Regions from separate parts of the Homo sapiens genome. Here region 2 is linked to region 1. Evidence: promoter capture Hi-C in human tissues and cell types (Jung and others, 2019). All regions are on one chromosome and are shown on one strand. Each heading gives the region's core, a stretch centred on a gene start or on the middle of the fragment in contact. The rest is flanking DNA. Distances are from core to core; before and after follow the strand shown.

The links. Contacts are between HindIII fragments. The study calls those that stand out against the background at their distance.
Region 2: a contact is called between a fragment that was not itself captured here and the fragment with the promoter of SLC41A2 in region 1, in 1 of the 25 tissues and cell types used here (heart left ventricle).

What each region holds. Positions count from the first base shown.
Region 1 is chr12:104,955,333-104,961,517 of GRCh38, forward strand. It overlaps SLC41A2 (solute carrier family 41 member 2), which reads right to left and starts at 2,958. Exons shown (of 11, transcript NM_001352171.3): 1 at 2,756-2,958. RefSeq lists silencers at 2,347-2,676, 2,867-3,136. The HindIII fragment of the contact is 10,569 bases long and covers 1-4,348 here.
Region 2 is chr12:106,871,247-106,878,389 of GRCh38, forward strand. All of the region lies in intron 9 of RIC8B (RIC8 guanine nucleotide exchange factor B), which reads left to right. All of the region lies in intron 2 of LOC105369961 (a long non-coding RNA gene), which reads right to left. Among named protein-coding and RNA genes, the nearest start is that of TMEM263-DT, 81 kb to the right of the region's middle. RefSeq lists an enhancer at 5,175-5,724. The HindIII fragment of the contact is 3,835 bases long and covers 966-4,800 here.

The DNA.
Region 1 (6,185 bases), core at 1,708-4,207:
TACCCTCGCTACCTGATTACCCTCACAACCTGATTAGGTTCCTCAGCTTCCACTGTCCCCCAGGTGGTGTCTGATCACTCTGGCCTGTCTTCAGCAAGAATCCTGTTAGGTTGGTTTGGTCTGAATATCCACTACCCCCGGTGTTTCCTCTCAGTACTTTTCTGTCCACTGACCATGACACTGCTCCTTGGCTATAAATTCCCATTTGCCCACACCGTATTCAGAATTGAGCCTAGTCTTCCTCCCAAACTGCAAAATCCCATTCCATGGTCCCTTTACCTATCACAATGGTCCTGAATAGACTTTTTTTTACCACATTTTAACAAGTATCATCGAATAATCTTTTTCTTTAACAACAATCATATTAGATCAGTGGAAAATTGAGTTTGAATTCCTGGGAGGTAACATCAGGTCTTTTTAGTGGTTTTTTTTTTTTTGGCCATGAAAGACCTGATGCTGAATTTGTGTGCGCTCGGAAATTAACCATGAAATAAGCACAGCAGCATTCATTTAGCTGTAAGTGGCTCTTAACTTTAGTGCCATCAAAAATATTTATTTACCACCCACACATGAACATAATTGTAATAAAAACTACACTGCACAAACTTAAGAAAACAAGATTCTCCACTTTACTGAGAAGTTAAACATAAATTTTTGAGTGATTTGTGCTTGCCATTTATTGTTAGTTTGTTCAGCTGGCCACTAATATAAATTTTTTGTAATTAAAGTGATAACTGGGATTTTCAAATTGAGCATAGAATATATGAAAATACCAATTAAGGGTGGTCTCTCTTGACTCCAGTCAGGAATATGCCTTCTGTAGCTTTGCTCAAAATACCAGGGCAGTAAATGTAAAGGGGTCAGTAAGATGTCCAGAATGAACAGGTAGGGTATTCTTAAAGAATGAAGTGGCACTTATTCAACCTTTACCCAAGAATAAGCATTAAGTTTTTCGGTATCAGATTGGTTGGATTTTTTCAAGTCAGTGCCAGTATCCAAACCTATTAACAGAAATTTTTTTCCATAAATGAACAATAAAACTCAATAAAAAGCTAAGCAACCCAGACTGGCCGTGGTGGCTTATGCCTGTAATCCCAGCACTTTGGGAAGCCGAGGTGGGCAGATCACTTGAATTCAGGAGTTGGAGACCAACCTGGCCAACATGGTGAAACCACGTCTCTACTAAAAATACAAAAATTAGCCGGGCATAGTGGTGTGTGCCTGTAGTCCCAGCTACTTGGGAGGCTGAGGCAGGAGAATCGCTTGAACCCCGGAGGTGGAGGTTGCAGTGAGCCAAGATTGTGCCACTGCACTCCAGCCTGGGTGACAGACTGAGAGTCAGTCTCCAAATAAATAAATAAATAAATAAATAAAAATAAAAAGCCAAGCAACCCAATTAAAATATGGGTAAAAGATATGAACATTTTCTCCAAAGAAAATATATGAATGGCCAATAAGCACATGAAAAGATGCTCAGCATCCCCAATCATTAGAGAAATGCAAATCAAAACCACAAAGAGATACCATTCCACACTCACTACGATGGCTATCATAAAAAATAACCAGTAAAAAAGTAACAAGCCTTGGGGAAGATGTGAAGAAATCGGAACCCTCATACACTGCTTAGTGGGAAAGTAAAATGGTACAGCTGCTTTGCTTGGCAGTTCCTCAAAAAGTGAAACACGGAGCAATTGCCCTCCTAGGTATATACCCAAGAGCACTGAAAACACATGTCCACAAAAACGTGTAAACAAATGTGCATAGCAGCATTACACACAATGGCCAAAAACTGGAAACAACCCAAATGTACATCAACTGATGAATAAACAAATGTGGTACACTGATACAACAATATTAATATGCTATAAAAAGTAAAGTACTGATACATACTACATGAGTGAAACTTGAAAACATTACAGTATGTCTTTCGACGCCAGACACAAAAAGCCACATATTGTACGCTTCCATTTATATGAGATTTCCACAACAGGCAAACCCATATAAACAGAAAGTAGATTAGTGGTGGCTAGTGGGGTGGGGTCAAGGGGAAATGAGGAGTGATTACTAAGAGAGACAGGGTTTCTTTTGGGGATGATGATCTGGATAGTGGTCATATTTGGAAAACTCTGTGAATATATTAAAAGCCACACTTTAGAAGAATGAGTTTTATGGCATGTGATGTATATCTCAATTTAAAAATTGTCACTACAAAAAAAAGATGACATATATACGTAATATACACATCAATGTATATCGGTAACACATAGATATGTGTCATCTCTCTCTGTAAATGAGCATTTGGGCTTTTAAATTTGAGATATGCTCCGTGTATATAAAGAGAAGAATGAAAGAAAAGGGTGACGGGGCACTCGCGGAGCCCTGAACAGGCATCTGGGGTGTGCCCGAGCCAGCCTCGCAGCATCTCCATCCCAGCTCACCTTCAGCCATCACTCATACACCACCCGCCGCCTGTCCCTGCCTTGGGCGCCCGGGACCGCTTGTCCGCGGTGGCCGCGGAACAGCTTCCCTCAGCCCGAGGTGGGGCAGGCGCGGGGGCCTGGGCTCGGGCGCTGCCCGGCGGCCCGGAGAGGCGTCCGCAGGGGGCACGGCTGCTCGGGCGGGGCCGCTCCCTCTGCTCCCCGCGCCCCCGCCGCCGGGTCCCGAGCCCAGGCCTCTCGGCCCCACCTCCCTCCCGCACCTGATGCGCCCGAACGCGGCGCCGCGGCCGAAGCCGAGACTTCCCCTCCATGGTCACCTGTTCCGGAGCGCGGCGGCGGCAGCGGCCGGTGTGAGAAGGGTCCCCGTCTCCTCAGACCAGACCGAGACACCAGGGGCGGGGGATGGAAGGGGCATTCACCTGGTGCCCGGCACCGGTGGTGGCGGGGAGGACAGCGGCTCCCAGCCCACAGCTCCTTCCTGCTCCCGCGCCTCCTCGCGCGGCTGCGGCCCCAAGCTGACAGCCCGGCCGTCGGCGCCCGCGGCCCCCTGACTCCCCGCCGCCCCGCCCCCGCGCGGCAGCCCCGCGCAAGCGCAGCCGCGCCGCCGCCGGGGAAGCCCGGGCCTTGGTGATGTGGCCCGCGGGGCGGCGACCCGGAGCGACAGCACCGCCCCGCCCGGACCCCGGCCGCGCCCTGGCAGACAGCTGTCGGGAACGGGGGCGCTGGATGACGGCAAGGGGGCAGTTTTCTGGGGAGCCTGCCCAGGAGAGAAGGGCTGTGGCCTCCTTCGGCATCCCTCTTCCCCACCAGCCCACGCACGCCCACTTCACCGCCTGCTCCAAGGTCCGAACCCCCGAATCCATGACTCATGATTTCTCTTCTCAGACCAGCGGCCTCTTTTTGGCTGAGGTCATGTTTCTTGCAGACTGGAGTTAAAACCGAACCACGTGTCTTTCGGCCCAGCAGCGCATAGTGTGGGCGGTGCAGGAGCCGAGACGGGCAGGAACCACCGCAGGAGGGGGTGAGGTTTAGGGCAGCCCCATAGCACCCTCCCCGTGCCAGGCAGGTGTAGGCGCCAAGCGCATGGGGCGCTGAAGAGTTGGCTGGGGTGCCAGGCTTTTCAAGTTTCCCCACACTTGCTTTTAAACCTAGATCAAACTGATCCAAAGTCTGCATGTAAATCCGAGAGCTCATTTATTTTATTTACAAAACTATTGAGCATCTACTGTGTATGATTCAGGGAATGAGACACACCCCAGGGATACTCCAGTGAACAAAAGAAAGGTGTTGGTCCGAAGACAGTTATTTTAAAAATTACACAGCTAATGCCATAATGCCAGGATTGGTGGCTCATGCGTGTAACCTCAACACTTCGGGAGGACCAGGCGAGAGGATCGCTTGAGGCCAGGAATTTGAGACCAGCCTGGGCAAACACAGCGAGACCTGGAGTGGCTAGGAGACTGAGGTGGGAGGATCGCCTGAGCCCAGGAGTTCAAGGCTGCAGCGGGCTATGATCGCATCACTGCACTCCAGTCTGGGCCACAAAATGAGACCTTGTCTCTAAAACAACAACTCAAAATTACACAGCTAATGATACTCTTTTCCTCAAATCAAAGCTTCTACCAATTCCAAGCCACACCAGTGATTTAGTAGCAGCTTTTCTGGTGCTGAAGGACACCAGCATACATTTATCCATGTTCTTTTTTTTTTTCCTTATGCTTTGCGATCAGACTTTGAGCTTTAACCTTAACCTTCAGGGTGAAGGGTGCTTCGGTATCACTCTTGGCCATCTGCAGTCATGCTTTTTATAATGACTCATCCTGGTGTTCCTCACCACCTAAAAATGAAAGTATAATTGCAAGGAATATGGAAAAGCAGTGTTTTGACTGCATTTCCAGCTGGTTTTTGTTCTGGTTGTTTTTTGAATTACAGATCATTAGAAAGTAGCTGCTCTTGAAAGTTTGGCAGAAGTTCCACCCAATATGTGTTCCTCCCCTGAGTGTGTAGTCTTTCAAGATTTCTACACAAAGCATATACAGAAGCCAGCCTGTCTTGGTTTTGAAAATTCTTCCACCATTTTTTTCTGAGAGAGCTGGTGGTTTCTACCGTCCTTCAGAGCATTACATGGCATGTGGCAGGCAACCTTCTACTTACATTCTTCATTCAGTACCGCAAAGTAGTGTGTACTTTGGAGATATGTTAAGCTTCAAGTTGGAATCCAAATTTAAATCAAATTTCAGCCCTGAAAATAACTCACATTGGAATCGGGCGAGGAAATGCCCCCTTGTAAAAAACTGGGTCCTAATGGGTGCAGACAACAACAATCCCATTTCTACTTCATCTCCCGTCTGACAGCTGGCAACTTCAAATGTGAAGCAAGTGGCTTGGACTTGAGGCTGTGTGGTGATGCTGTTGTGATTGCTGGAAAAAAGCCTGAGAGTTATGAGAGTGTATAACAAAGGAGCGTGTCTGTGCTAGGGGGTAAGAAAGATCTCCTGGAGGAAGTGACATTTAATCTCAGCCTTGAAGAATAAGGAGGAGTTAGGGCAGGCAACATAGAGAAGGGGGTGGGGTGGGCAGTGCATTTAGCTGTGGAAACTGCAGGTTTGAAGGCCCTTTGGTAGGAAGAGGCTCTGTCTGTGAAGGCTTTGGGAAAAGGCCACTGTGCTTAGACTGAGAGAGCTACCTGGGAGGGAGAGGTGGGCGGGCCCTTGAGGGTCAGGTTAAGGACTTTGGATTTAATCCTAAAGACAAAAGAAGCCAATGAAGAGTTGAAAAGGTCCTATCTGGACATGAAAAATTGCATTTGTAAAAGATGATCCTGGATGCAGTGGCTCACACCTGTAATCCCAGCACATTGGGAGGCTGAGGTGGGAGGATCACTAGAGGCCAGGAGTTTGAGACCAGCCTGGGCAACATTGCAAGACCCCCATCTCTACAAAAATAAAATAAAATTAGCCAGGCTTGGTGGCACGCACCTGACTGAGCCCAGGAGCTCGAGGCTGCAGTGAGCTATGATCGTGCCTCTGCATTCCAGCTTGGGCAGCAGAGTGTGAGACATTGTCTCTTAAAAAAAAAAAAAAAAAAAAAAAAAAGAGATTATTCCGGCTGCAGAGTGGAGAATTAATAAGAAGGGTGCAACAGAGGATGTGTGACAACCAGTTTGCAGGCAATGGAGATTAGGAGATGATGGTGGATTGAAGATATAGGTCAGGGTTAGAACTGTAAGGATTTGATCAAATGCATGGAAGGTAAAGGCGAAAAAGTGTCAAAAAATGACTCCCAAGTTTCTAATTTGAGTTTATGCCATTTCCTGATTTGGGAAATGTGGAGGAGGAGATCAGAAGGGGACAATTTTGAGTTGCTTTATATATGTTGAGTTTGATACCCCTATGAGACATTCAAATGAAGATACTGACTCTATGTTTGAAAAACTGCAACTCAGAGTAGAGATCTGGATTGAGGTGAATCAAAACTAAATTTTAGGAGAGCACATAATATGAACTGTTCATAAGATTTAACCTCTAAACTTCAGAGAAAACCTGAGCAGGCCAGGTGTGGTGGCTCATGCCTGTAATCGAGCACTTTGGGAAGCTGAGTCAGGTGGATCACTCGAGGTCAGGAGTTGGAGATCAGCCTGGCCAACATGGTGAAACCCTATCTCTACTAAAAATACAAAAATTAGCCAGGTGTGGTGGCGTGAACCTGTAGTCTCGGCTACTCAGGAGGCTGAGGTATGAGAATCAC
Region 2 (7,143 bases), core at 1,633-4,132, 1.9 Mb after region 1:
TTTGCTGCTGCTTGTATTTTTGTTTTAGCCTGTTTTAGTTTTTGTTTCAAATCATGATGCTTTTATTTTTTCATTTTTGATGTGTAAGTTTGCAATTACGCCTTTTTGGGTTGCTGCTGAAACCAAGAATTCTAAAATGTCATGCACCCAATAAGAAAAAGTGAAAAGAAATAGCTCACATGAAGGATTTTCTGAAAACAGGGACTTGTATTAATTAGGAGTTCTAAAAAAAAAAAAAAAAAAAAAAAAAAACCAAAAAACTCCCCTTCCCCTCTTGCTTCTCACCTCCTTCCCCTTCAAAAATAACCAGTTTTGAAATAATTAAATCAAGTATATACTAATCAGCAACTAGTCATCTTGGAGGAGTTATTAGAAAATAATTCCTTTCATACTTGGCTGAGTCACTCTATTTTCTAGTCATACATTGAGTCACTATCTTCTTTAAGCCATCTTGAATGAATGCTTCTGTGTGTTGGTGGCAGCTGCCACTTAAAGATGCATTTCTTCTGGCCATCCCCTTTTTCACAGTAACTGTGTAAAGGCTAGTATCCCTCAGTCAAAAGAAGGAGCCATTGGAATGGAAAAGCCAGAGAGCCAACCATGAAAGGGAAAGGTGGAACACAGAAACGAGCAGAGATTAAGGGCACAGCAGAGGCTTAGGGGTAGAAATGGACAAGAACAAGAGACTGACATGGGGAGTGTGACAAGTATGGATATTTATCCACGCTGCAGAGTATGATGCTGGTAGTGTGGTAGAAGTTGTTTAGGAGTAAATAGCTTAATTATCTACAAAGCTAATAAGACTAGAACTCAGTAACTTCCAGCTAGCCCTTTTAAATTTTCATCCTTTCTCAAGGTTAGAATTTACAGCTAACTGACTATATTCACAATCTTCAAAAGACATTGTTGCCTCTTTGCAAATTACATTCTCCATACCTTTGTATAGAACAGAAATGTTCCCTCCCAGAAGGGATTAATAGTCACAGAGAAGATACCGATAGGGCAAACCTATAGGAGGCAGAATAAGATCAAAATGAATATATAAAGATAAGATGTGTGCTTGGCCACTTCCAGGAGGAGCTGATGTAGCTAATGAAACACAGGGGTATAAAAACAACAGGATAAGAACCAACAGAGTCAGGCCGGGCACAGTGGCTTATGCCTGTAATCCCAGCACATTGGGAGGCTGAGGCAGGTGGATCACCTGAGGTCGGGAGTTTGAGACCAGCCTGACCAACATGGAGAAACCCTGTCTCTACTGAAAATACAAATTTAGCCGGGTGTGGTGGCACATGCCTGTAATCCCAGCTACTCAGGAGGCTGAGGCAGGAGAATCGCTTGAACCTGGGAGGCGGAGGTTGCGGTGAACCAAGGTCGCACCATTGCACTCCAGCCTGGTCAAACAAGAGCAAAACTCTGTCTCAAAAAAAAAAAAAAAAACAAACCCGACAGAGTCCATCTGGTAGAAACTGGAGAGGAAAGGTTAGCAAGGACCTGAGTAGAACACATTAGTGTGTTAGGACAGTAAACCAGTTGCATAAATTTCATATTCTGACCAACAACATGAGTTTTTAAAGTTTAACACAAATGCCATTTAACTGGGCCATCTACCCTGGATGAGTAAACTCCAGGTAGGGAAATGGAAGACAGGGGAAATAACTGCCTAAGACTACACAGTATAATCCAGATACTTGGCTTACTAATAGAGGAACTACCATTTCATAAGGCATCTCTATCACAGGCACAGAAAACAAAGGTGCTAGGTCCTTCTCCTTTTAATCTCAGGGGAATCCACATATTCTAGAAGCTGCCAACAAATAAATATACAAACGTCAAGTCTGAAATACCCCAGCTTCCACCTGATTTAAACTATGCCTCAAAGAAGATGCCTACTTATCCGGAAGTACCCAGCAGATGCCCAACTGAAGGTGACACTGATTTTTGCATGTTTAAAGCAGAGCAAATATGTCTTATGTTGGCTTTGATGGTATCAATTTTGCCATTAAAGTTGAAGCAAAAGGCAACCTTGAGAATAGTTCAAATCATACAGAATTTTTGCATGACGTGTGTTGGGCGTTTTACATTGTCTGCCTTTGTGTGCTTTCTAACATTTGCTCTCACTAAATACAATCAATGACAAAACTGTATAAAGATCAGCAGTGGGCATTCCAAAGCAGTAATGCAAAGAATGAAGTCATTCTTTATGCGTCTTACATGTCTTTTGTGCTGTGTTCCTCATTAGTCTTAAGTTTCTTCTCTCTTTCCACTTTTTTTTGAGGTAAAAAAAGATGCCATAAAGCCAAAATAGACTAAACTCAGTACAATTCAGGGAACATTTACTAAGCAGCTACTCTGTGCAAGGCATCGTGCTAGGAACCTGAGGAAGATTCAGAGGAGAATGTGACAGTCTCTGCCTTTGGAAAACTCACATTCTAGTGGAAGAAATGACTGTAATCTAGTCTAGAATACAAGGTAGAAGGAAATAATGACAAAATGAGTTCTATGTTGAAATGTAAGCATGCAGGAAAAGGAGTAGTTCATTCTGTCTGGATGATTCAGGGACTGTTTCACAGGAAAGCTAGCATTTGTGCTGATCCTAGAATTTTGATGTATTTAATAGAAAAATGGAAAAATGACCATTCATTCCAGGTGGAGAGAAATTTAATCTTGTTAATAAGTCTTGGATAGTCACATACTACTTATTTCTTCTAAAGAGCTCAGGTTGTTTTATCATTATTTGATTAGTACGTTATCAGATTTATCATTGGGGGAAGCAAGTACCAAAGAATTGCCCAAAGCATTTCCAAGCTAATGACTGATGATAATTCATTTCCTTTTAACAGTTTATAAAACACTTTCACATACATCCTCTTTCTAGTTTCATTTTAAAAAGTGAGACTAGACCTTCATTTTCCAGAACTCAAGACGTTTGCTCTGTCCACTGTACTACGGTGTCTGTCTGTTATAGTAAGTGTTTGCCAGAACACTTCCTCATCACCCTGTCAGCATTGTACTATTGGTTAGTTCCCTCCCTTTCACTCTAGGACGTTCTGCATTCAACCAAGTCGTTATTGTGCTAAGAGTGTACCATAGCTTTGTCTGATTAACTTTCCTTCTCAAAAATGAAATGGTTTTCTCCTGCACCTGAATTGAAAGGCATGTGAGTAAAGGATAGGGTTGGAGGTGATGTGGCCAATGAATGGACACTAGACACTTCCTTTTTTCCATCCATAGGAGAGCAGATGTGAAGGACCTGCACCAGGATGGTGGTTAGCAACAGTGGCCCGTGCCAAAGCACTTACCAAAGTGATGATGACTAAGGTTGGTCATGCCAAGTACTGTTACTGAGCCTGGTGTAGGGTATAGATGTTATTCACTACCAAAATTGTAAAACCACCAATGTAAAAGTTAAAATTACATTTCTATTTTGCCTCCATGCTGGACATAGCCGCTGCCTCAAGGAGCTCATCACCTTAGCAGCTTTCTCTCAACTAGATTTCCAAAGATATTGGAGAGATTAGTGCTCAGATATTTTCTTCCCATTGAATACCAGCTGACTTAAGAGTATTCCAAGTGATTTTTTTTTTTTAGTATAAGGATTATATTTGTGATAGATGTAGATAAGGTGATTGGCAGTGCACCTGGAGGTCTAAAGAGTTGGAAAAGAATCTGAACCCTATAAATCCCATCATGTCTAGCTAGTACAGTGCCTTGTACCCTGTGGTTTCCACAGTATGTGATGATGAAATAATGAAAATAGCTGATCCCCAAATTTGAAGGGCAGTTTTTTGCTTTAAAATACCTACATGGCTTAAGACTTTAAAGTACACTCTGTCAGTTCCATTTTTTGGCCAGATGTCATAAAATTCAGGGCCAGAAAGGAATTCCATAAAGTACTTTGAGCCATGACTGGCTTATTTAAATATTGGGGTCCATAATTCCTTTAATATAGAATGATAACTGTAATATTTATCAAATATAAACATTTAAGGCCTGAGGCATGAAATTATAGAAAGCCTCATTTGACATTTTTTAATGTGAGGGCAGAGATGGAAAAGCGGATGAAATTTGCCTGCCTCTTCACCTCCTCTTTCCTTCCCTGACTTCGGAAAAAATAAGCCCCTGCAACTCAAGCAGGAGATCTGAATGGGAATTGTGTAGTAAAAGCAAGCCCACTGTGCCTAATACAATTTCATTTGCCTTAGCTATTGCACACAACTTGTATATAATAGTGGTGCCTCCTCTAGAAAAGGGGAGAGAGCATTGACTGGCTTAAGCTTAAACTAACCAAGGGAAATAATATTTCAAGTTACAGTTTTGTTTTGACTTCTCTAATCCCCTTTAGTTTCTACATTGGAACCAGAGCTAATTAATCCTCTACTCACCCTTACCCCATCACTGTCTAACAAGATACATTGCCTTTTTACTTATATATTCTGCCATCAAAATCTATGTTTTAAAATTTATATTTATATAAATTAAAGATAATTGTTCTACCATTTCTTCCTTTTCTTACTCCTTAGCCAATAAGTGTTTTGTTTTTTTTGTTGTTGCCAGTCATTGTGTACTATTTGGAACATGACTTTTATAATAAATGCAGGCACCAGATATAGGATTAGTTCCCTTTAATCAAAAGATTAATTTTAAACTGACTAAGGCTGAGATAGGTAGTTTATAACTGAAAAATAACAAATACATAGTTTTTTCTTAAAAATAAGTTATTTTACTCTCCTTACAAAAATATCAACGACTGTGATTATACCTACCTTTGTGATAAGTTAGTTAAGGAAATGCTTTTCAGGTACATTTCATAAACATGATCTAATTTTTAGAGCATTGTAAGATCTATTATAGATATGAAAATATAAAGATCTTGTTTTCATCAGAATATTCTTTAGACTACCCTGTCCAGAGTATGGTAACCACAGCTATATATGACTGTTGAGCACTTGAAATGTGGTTAGTCCAAATTGGGATGTCCTATCAGTGTAAAATACTCACTAGATTTCAGAGACTTGGCACAAAAAAAGTAAAATATCTCATTATTTGTTTAATATAGGTTACATATGGAAATGATAATATTTTTGATACACTGGGTTAAAATATTAAAATTAATTTTACCTATTCTTTTTCAATGTGGCTACTAGAACATTTAAGAGTACATACACTTGGCTTACATTGTGGCTTACATTATATTTTTATTAGACAGTGCTGTTCTACCTCATTAAAATATACTGTAAGGTTGCTTGGAAATTGAATTAAGAGGACTTGGATCCAGCTAAATTAAACACCTTAAGGTGTCAGGGGAGGATTAACTTGAGAAGCTTGATATTATCTATCCTTAGGTTATATAGGACCTTTCCAGTAGCTAGACACCTTTAAGTAGGACGTCATGCTACCTTTGTATTGCCTATCTGTAGTCATTGTTCTTTAGATCTGTAGTGGGACTAACTACTTTGAGCTCTTGGTTAAAGTACTCTCTGAAATGGTTTTTGACTAGTAGAGGAACATCAAATAAGAATCATCTCCACTGGCTGTTTGTTCTCTTAGTTCTCCTCATTCTTTAACTTTTAATCCTTCCTTATTGGGAAGAGCGTTAAGAACTTCTGTTTCTACTACTTTATTCTACAGTGTCAGTTGGCATGCTGACCTATTAATATTTATTTTGTTAATTTGGACAACAGATAAGAAAAATTCTGTAAATAAATTACCAAGAAATAATTTTTAAAACCACTTAAAGATAAAACTGCACTTTATTCTTCTAGTACTATACCTGATCTCTTTTTCTCTATATTTTCTTAACCATGCTGTTTACTGTGGGTAAATTAGGTGGGTAGCAGATTTTTAGAAGCTTTGCATGTGATCTAACAGAAATGTGAACAGTGATTTAAAAAAAACTAATATTTATATAGTGCTTTAAGGTATAAAAAATGCTTCCATATACGTTATCTCCATTGATTATTAAAACAGCCCTGTGAATTAAATAGCGTCAGGTATTTTTTTAAGGATTAAATGCACCAAAGATTAAGTAACTAACCCAAGTCCAGTTTTCAGTCTTGAGACTCCAGATTGTGTGCTATTGTGAGAAATTACCAACAGCTCTCAAAAGTTGTCTGATTATTTTTAAATAAGACATTCTAAATTTTAAATAAATGAAAAGCACGAAAGACAGATAATAAGCATATTTACTTTAGAAGAGAACTAAGATTTAGAGGACATGCATTACTGCTTTTTCATTCCACAGTTGAGCTCTTCGTAGGTATCAGGTCAAATACTAAATAAATAGCTTATATTTTAAAACACAAAACAAAGCAAAGCTTTTTGAAGGGAACAAGTAAAATTTCTATGATTCTATGTTAATACAAGGTTTTTAAATTGTTTTAAAAAGAGAATGATTATGGCTCTTCTGACAAATTTTCATACATGTGATCACATTAATAAAACCTAACTTAAAAAAGGCTTCCCTATGGGACTATTTACCAAAGTTGCTCAACCCGCAGCCCAGGACGCTTTTGAATGCGGCCCAACACAAGTTAATAAACTTTCTTGAAACATTATGAGATGTTTTTGCAATTTTTTTTAAGCTCACCAGCCATCATTAGTGTTAAGTGTATTTTATGTGACGCAAGACAATTCTTCTTCCAGTGTGGCCCAGGAAAGCCAAACAATTGGACATCCCTGGTTTAGACAATTCCCAATTACCTTTATAAAGTGGAAAGACATGGTGATGTGGGGACTGTACACCATATCAATTTGTCTTGGGTAACAATATTTTTATGTTGCATATTTTACTTTCCCAATTGTACCCAATCCCAAAGCACAATGATGAGGGCTGAGGGAAGGATCTCAGAATCCTTTCAAAGATGTAGCCTAGACCTCAAATTTGCTATGGAAAAGCTACCATACCACTCATTCCTACCAAGTTAGTGGCTTAATGAAAGATCGGTGTAACCAGTCAGCTCTAGGAAGTCATTAGATGAAAGATGAAGGATCAGGGTTCAAGCCTAAAGGACACTTTCACAGTATCTAACTGAACATGTTTACCAGTCCAAAGGTTATAATATTATTGCTGTGAGAAAAAAAGAGGTGAAAACATTTATAAGAATATCACAAGTTATTGGGAAACCCGTTATACTTCAGTGG